Regions from separate parts of the Homo sapiens genome. Here region 2 is linked to region 1. Evidence: promoter capture Hi-C in human tissues and cell types (Jung and others, 2019). All regions are on one chromosome and are shown on one strand. The core of a region is centred on a gene start or on the middle of the fragment in contact, and the rest is flanking DNA. Distances in the headings are between cores, read along the strand shown. Region 1 holds the start of PARD6G (par-6 family cell polarity regulator gamma). Region 2 overlaps PARD6G (par-6 family cell polarity regulator gamma).

What was found. Contacts are between HindIII fragments. The study calls those that stand out against the background at their distance.
Region 2: a contact is called between a fragment that was not itself captured here and the fragment with the promoter of PARD6G in region 1, in 2 of the 25 tissues and cell types used here (dorsolateral prefrontal cortex and pancreas).

The regions. Positions count from the first base shown.
Region 1 is chr18:80,246,105-80,250,020 of GRCh38, forward strand. PARD6G (par-6 family cell polarity regulator gamma) reads right to left here and starts at 1,410. Exons shown (of 3, transcript NM_032510.4): 1 at 1,173-1,410. The coding sequence starts at 1,244. RefSeq lists enhancers at 1-49, 50-549 and a silencer at 1,576-1,635. The HindIII fragment of the contact is 11,759 bases long and covers 1-3,509 here.
Region 2 is chr18:80,209,388-80,213,316 of GRCh38, forward strand. The region is part of intron 1 of PARD6G (par-6 family cell polarity regulator gamma); the gene reads right to left. Among named protein-coding and RNA genes, the nearest start is that of PARD6G, 36 kb to the right of the region's middle. The HindIII fragment of the contact is 5,128 bases long and covers 1-3,929 here.

The DNA of each region.
Region 1 (3,916 bases), core at 160-2,659:
ACACCCGCCCTGCGCCCAAGATAGGCACACAGTTAGGGGTGCGGGCTCCCACTCCGCCGTTAGGAGCCTTTCCCACAACTCTGAGAACCGGGGTGCGAAGAAAGAAAGGGCGAAAGGGCCGCTCAACTCCCAGAGAGTAGCCAGCGAAAGACTCGAGGGGCCCCCTCCCGCAGGACCCCGAACAACTGCAGCACCTCCTCAGCCCGCGGGGTCCACCAAGGAGACCCTCACAAACAATAGCATCTGCGGCGAAGGAACCACCCCCGCAAAGGGCAGAAGCGCCAGATCCTACCAGCCAATTACCCAGACGCGCATCGCGACCCGCAAGTTCGGGCACGCTCCGCCCGGGCGCAGGCAGCGGGAGGGGCCGGGCACGCCCGTGGGGGTGGTCTGGGTACGGGTCTGATCCGGGGGCGCGCTCGGGAGGGGTCTGGGTCTGAGCCGGGGGCGCGCCCGGGGGAGTGGGCTGGGTCTGGGGCGGGGGCGCGTCCGGAGGTGGGGGAGTCTGGGGTGGGGGCGCGCCCGTGGGGGTGGGGTGGGGTGTCTGGCCCGGGGACGCGCCCGGGGAGGCGTGGTCTGGGTCTGGGCCGGGGGAGAGCCGGGTGCGTGCTCTGGGTCTGCGCGGGGGAGCGCGCCTGGTGCCTAGATGTTTGGTACCGAGCGGGTGGGGGACGCCGGGCTCGGAGCCGGCGGCAAGTCTCCTCCTGGCAGGTAACAAGCCTCCTTTGCAGCCTTGAAGGCGCCTTGGCCAGGGCCATCCCACGGCCCGGGCCCCCAGAGCCCCCCCACGGCCCCGAATCCGAGCAGCCCCTGGCCCTCAACTCGCCCCGGAAAGGCCGCCCTCCCCTCCAATGTGTGGCGCGCCCCGATCGCCTCTCACTCGTGGAACAAAAGAGCAGCTCCCGCGGAGCGGGTCCAGAGTCTGCCCGGACTGTCCGATGGCCCTCGGCCCTCTGAGCGCCGCGGCTGCCGGGCTTTGTGTCCGCGCGGGGGGCGGGAAGGACGGCCGGGGTCCCCAGTGCGCGTCCCGCGGAGCGGCGCGCGGCGCCCGAACTGGAAAGTTGTCGCCGGCGCCTGTCGCCTCCACGCCGCCCCAGTCCCCCTCCGCGGGGCGCCCCATTCATTAGCCAGGAGACTGGGCGCAGGGCCGCCGGGGCGGGCGGGGGGCTTACCTTGCTCTTGACTTCCACTGCGCTGCAATCGTAGAATCGCAAGGTCTGAGACTTGTGAAAACTTCGGTTCATGGTTTCGGCCCCGGTCAGCCTCGCCGTCGCCCTCGCTCCTCAGGGGCCGCAGAAAGACTCCCGGGGGCGGCGCCCCCAGGCCCCGGCCCCGGCCCCGGCCCGCGCTCGCTTGGCCGGCGGGCTGCTCCCGGTGCTGCGGGCCCGAGCTGGGCTGGCCGCGCGCCTCAGGGACTCCAGGGGCCGCGCGCGGGAGGAGCGCGGGGGACGCCGGCGCGCGCCGCCCCACCTCCCGGCGCCCGCGCCCGCGCCCCGCCCCGCCCCCGAGCCCCGGAGGACCCGCCCATATCCCCGCCCACAGCCCCGCCCCGCGCTCCGGAGGACCCGCCACACCACGCCCCCACGCTGCAGCTCCGCGTCGGATCGCCAGTGGGTGCGCGCCCTCCTGTCCACAATCCCAGAGCCTGGGGAAAGGAGCATCGCGGCCAGCCCAAGGCGTCTCGTTTTGATTGCCTCCACCGAGCAACCTAGGATAGGGGTTGATTTTTGCCATTGTTTTGGGTAATATTCAAGTGAAGAATGCTAACGAGAACCACTGGAGACCTGATCCCAAAAGGCATCACCTGTCAGTACTAATTGTCAAGTTGCTGATGGCCTGGGAGAAGGGTTTTATCAAATAGGCTTAGAGCAGCCTGGCCAATACGGTGAAACACTATCTCTACTAAAAATACAAAATTAGCCGGGTGTGGTGGGGGGGGTGCCTGTAATCCCAGCTAATGGGGAGGCTGAGACAGGAGAATCGCTTGAACCCGGGAGGCGGAGGCTGCAGTGAGCCGAGATCGCATCACTGTACTCCAGCCCGGGAGGCAGAGCGAGACTCCGTCTCAAAAAATAAAAAATAAAAATAAAGGCTTAGAGGGCTTTATTAGATAGCCTATCTCTAGGGAGAGGATCAGAAGCACCTGCCTGATGCGAAAGGAGACTTTTTCTAAGGCAGCTAGAAAAAGAGAACCTGTTAAGACAAAGAATCAATTACTAGCAGCATCAATGAATATTTACCAATCAAGAGGCCTCTGAAACGGGCTTGCTGAAACCAAAGATACAATCCTTGCCCTTGAGGAATTTGTGATGAAGTTCAGAAGACAAGACAGTTTTTAAAAAATCATTTTGAAGTATACTATGAATTGTAATCTACAAGCCATATAATTATAAATCTCACCATACATTCATTGCAAAAGAAACCTGCAGAATATAAAGAAGTGAAAAAACCTGTAAAAATTACCTGTAGTCATGCTACTCAGCAATCAACTGTATTAACCTTTGGTGTATTTTATTTTCACTTATTTTTCTGCATATATATTTGTATATTTTACAAAGTTGTGACCATGCTGTTTATCTCGTTTTACAACTTGCACTTTTCACCTTGTGCTATATAATGAACTTTTTCTTCTTCTAAAAACAGGATCTTGCTATGTCGCCCATGTTGTAGTGCAATGCCATAATCACAGCTCACTGCAGCCTCAAACTCCTTGGCTCAAGCAATCCTTCCACCTCAGCCTCTTGAGGACCACAGATTTGTGCCACCACACAGACTAATTTTATTTTTATTTTTGTTTTTTGTAAAGATGGGGGTCTCTTTATGTTGTCCAGGCTTGTCTCAAACTCCTGGCCTCAAGCAATGCTTCCACCTCTGCCTCCCAGATGTGAGCCACTATACTCGGCCAGAACGGTTTTATTAAATGTTCTTAGAGAAGATGTTTTCTAAAAGGTGCTTATATGAATATAGGCATAATTTATAATCATTTCATTATTGTTGGATATTTAAGATGTTTCCACTGTTAAGCTTTTATATCACACTGTTTTAAAAATTTGCTTATATTCAATGTTTTAAATGGACTTCTAAAATTAGAACTACTAGGCCACAAACTACACACCTCTAAAGCCTTTAACACAAATTACTTTCATAGAAATCTGATTTTCCTTTATTTTTGCTAAGTATTTACCCTGTTATATGCTGGGACTTAGTGCCAGGGAGTACCATTACAAAGCCACTGAGTTATAATCACTGCCCTTTAGAGAAATGCTAGGCTGGCCAGAGGACCGGATATGTAAACAGAGTTCCAAAACAAGGCACGTGCGCAGTAAGTAAGCAAGCAAACAAAAAATGCCAAGAGACACACACTTGGCAAGCAGACTGTGGACAGAGGTGCTGCCATTCTTTCAAGGGAAATTTCCTAAACTGAATGCAAATCTTTGGATTTGAGAAAAGTCACAGGCTCAATGCTGACTGCAAGTTGCCCATTACAGTGGGCAACATTGTTTTGTGGTTAGAAGAGGCTCAGTAATATCCTGAGGGAGGAGCTCCAACTGTCACATTTTAAGAAATGCAGGGACAAAGGAGTATGTGGAGGAATGAACAGCACTGTAGGCAATGAAGGTGGGAGTGGGGTCCACCCAGTAAGCTCGGGGCTTTGGAGTGGGAAGACGCCTTTTAAAGGAAAGGCTGGAAGGCTACGGAATTTCAAGTAGCCCTAGACTTGGCTCTGGACCAGGTTGATGAGAGTGAGATCACTTTGTCAATGCCTGTGGCTCAGAGTGTGGTGTAAGGCCCAAAATCTGCTCCACCTGGCACTTGTTAGCAATACCCCACCCAGACCCACTGAATCAGAATCCGCACTTGAACAAGATCCCCAGGTGATTCATGTCCACACTGAAGTTTGAGAGGTGCTGCTCCT
Region 2 (3,929 bases), core at 190-2,689, 37 kb before region 1:
ATTTTGTAGTTGACCCCAACTATTATTCCTACAACAGGATAGTAAAAAACGGGGTTGGGGGAGATTTCATCTTTTAAAATTATTAAAAATTATCTCAAATACAAAATACCAAGATCAATAAGCAAAAGCGTATCAGCATCTGGCTAGGTGTGGTGGCTCACACCTGTAATCCCAGGACTTTGGGAGGCCAAGGCAGGTGGATCGTTTGACTCTAGGAGTTTGATACCAGCCTGGGCAACATGGGGAAACCATGTCTCTACAGAAAAGTACAAAAATTAGCCAGGCGTGGTGGCACACGCCTGTAGTCTCAATCACTTGGCAGGCAGAGGCAGGAGGATCGTTTGAACCTGGGATGTGGAGTCTGCAGTGAAGTGAGACTGCACCATTGCACTCCAGCCTAGATGACAGAGTAAGACCCTGTCTCAAAAAATACAAAGTGTATCAAAAGCTTCTAAATGCAAATCATTTTTATTTTCTTTAAAATGTATTCAATGATAACATCATTATACTATAAATAGAAAATAAGAAATGTCCATCTATCACCTATATCATATCAATCTCTATTAATCATATCTATCTATTCCCCCAACTCTAACTTCTTATCATAATTTTGACCCTTTTCCTTCCAGAAGAAGGGATAGAGCTCGAGAAGTGCTTGTTGAATGAATAATACCTTGGAGCCAGTTGCGATAAAAGTAATGTTCCATACAGCTCTTGGTCAATAAGCAAGGAGACAAAAAGATGATGGAAACCCAAGACAGCTAGGAGCCTGGGAAGCACGACAGGAAAGATGACAGGACAGTGCTGTTTTAAGTTAATCTCCAAGCACTTCCAGAATGGAAGACTAGGACCTGCAAATCTCTGCTTATCCATTAAAGACAGAATACTGGGAAAAACTGTCAAAACCAACTTTTAGAGAACCGTGGAAATTAATCAATGGCTTGCAACAATGCAAGGAGTGTTTATTCTAGAAAAGCAGCTGAATCTCAGTAAGAGCAGCAAGCTTTGCGGTGCTTTCACTTCCTATCCACCTCTCAACTGTGAAATCCAGCAGCCTCACAGCCTGGGAGGGAGCAGAACCAGTCTGGAAGTTCCCCAAAGCCCACACTCAGGACTGTCATCGTCAGACCTGTCTTGCAGCTCCAGGAAAAGCCCTTCTCATAGGGTCAAGTTCAGTGGGAAAAGCCTTGTCCCCAGGGCATTTGCTGAACACAATCAGCATCAGCTGTTTAACATTTAAAGCTAATATGATCAAAGTTTAAAAAAAAGTTTTTTTCCATGGGCCAAGTTTATTTTGTTAGTAGGACCAAAATAGGTTATCTACAAAGGGAACGACTAATTATAAACAAATAATTATTGCATACTCCCTGCCAATTTTACATCTCTTGCCAGATACAAAGCATTTACTTTAATGAACTTACAACGAGTTACTTGCCTAAAACCACGGAAAGTGGGGATATTTTCAAAGCAGCTGCTTATGTGATATGACTGGCAAAACCTCCCCACCCCCCATCCCCAAACACACGTCACTAGTCATTCCTTTGAGTCAATACATTGAAGGCCTCTGTTAAAATATGATCTGCTGACAGACAAATGGAACTATTCACATTTAGTTCAAACTAGTTGATTGAGTTTCTTAGTCACTTAGTAAAAGGTCCTTTGTGAAAGGGACCCAGTAGCATTTTTTTCTTTTTTTTTGAAAAGCCATCTGTATTTTTAGGTTTGCTTTTAAGTGAAAATTTTACAACATGCTTGAAATTAGATCCTCTGCAGCTATTTATATTTCTTATGATAAAAATTAGATGCCAATTTAAAAATATATTATCTCCTTTACACTTGTTCTTAAAATTCTTTTAGAGGATATGTGATACTTGAAGATTGCTGCACTATGGTATAGAGATCACTGTGAAAGTGCCTGAGGAATAGTTACCATTGGGGCAAACAGGAATTGGACAAACACATTTAAAAGACAATGCTGGGACGCATACCCATTAGGATGGCTACTATCGAAAAAGCAAAATAGTAAGTGTTGGCAAAGATGTGGAGAAATTGGAATCCTTGTGCACGACTGGTGATAACGTAAAGCAGTGCAGCTGCTGTGAAAAACAATATGGCAGTTCCTTAAAAACATTACAAATAGAATTACCATATGATCCAGCATTCTACCTCTGGGTATATAACTAAAATAACCGAAGGTGGAATCTGGAGGAGATATTTGTATATCCATGTCCATAGCAGCATCATTCACAATAGCTAGAATGTAAAAACCTAAGTATCCATCAATGGATGAATAGGCAAAAGGTGACACATACATACAATGGAATATTATTCCATCTTCAAAAGGAAGGAAATTCTGATGTGCTACAACATGGACGAACCTTGAGGACATTATGCTGAGTGAAATAAGCTGGTCAGAGAAGGACAATACTGTATGATTCCACTTATATGAGGTAAATAGAGTACTCGAAATTTTATCACAGAGACAGAAAGTAGTATGGTTGGTGCCAGGGCCTTGAGGGAGGAGGAATGAGGAGTTTGAATGCAGAGTTTGAGTTTTACAAGATGAAAAGAGTTCTGGAAATGGGTGATGGCTGCGTAACAATATGAATATACAGCAGGTCCTCAAATAATGTTTCATTCAATGTTATTTCACTACAATACTGATAAAAAAAAATCGATTCCCAGCCAGGGCCACACTGTCTGTGTGGAGTCTGCATGTTCTCCTCACATTTACATATTCTCCAGTTACTCCAGTTTCCTCCCACGTCCCAAAGATGTGCACATTAGGTTAACTGATGAGTCTAAATTGTCCAAGTCCTTGTGGGTGTGTATGTGAGTGTAACCTGTGATGGAATGGTGTCCTGCCCATGGTTGGTTCCTGCCTTGTTCCCTGAGCTGCTGGGATAGGTCCTAGTCACTCATAACCATGAACTGGAATAAACAGGTTGGAAAATAAGTGAATGAATAAATACAAATTATTGTAAAATAAAAATCTGTAATCACACAAATACGTGGCAAGAAATGACTGCGATAAATGCTGCAGTATGAAAGTGCCGGCCATATTTGTTATTGTTTGCTTTTGAACTGCATGGTGGTGGGAGGTGCTCATTACAATTTTCACTTTGCAAACAGTTATTCCTTGATTTAATCCACCACCGCTACAACCGCTGTCAGTCACTGATTCACCAAAAATTGGGTAAATAATTATCTTGTTTTGGCCGGGTGTGGTGGCTCAAGCCTGTAATCCCAGCATTTTGGGAGGCCAAGGCGGGCGGATGATGAGGTCAGGAGATCGAGACTAGCCTGACCAACATGGTGAAACCCCATCTCTACTAAAAAATACAAAAATTGGCCGGGTATGGTGGCACACGCCTGTAGTCCCAGCTACTCAGGAGGCTGAGACAGGAGAATCACTTGAACCCGGGAGGCAGAGGTTGCAGTGAGCCGAGATTGTGCCACTGCACTCCAGCCTGAGCAACAGAGCGAGACCCCATCTCAAAAAAAAAAAATTATCTTGTTTTTATCAATCTTTCTTAAATGTATAGCTCACATTTATTTCAAATGTTTAATATAATAAATATTTGGGGTCTTTATTTAGAAGTTTGGTGATGTTTTTGTGACGAGAAATATGTTGCAGGAACTTAACTCTTGTTTATATCAATCAGCCCATAGTAAATTGGTTTTATTACCAGTGGTTTTGCTTAAAGTCACAGTTTCCAAGAACCTATCGATGATAAGTGAGGACTTACTGGACTTAATACTACTGAACTGTACACATAAAAATGGTTAAGATGATGAAGTTTACGTCTATTTTACCACAATTTTTAAAAACGAAAAAAAGAAATCCTGGGGAGTGAGCTGTTCAAAGAAGGCTTTGAAAAGCTCTGATACATTCCAGAGATCTAGACAGCTACACAGGGGCAGGGCTT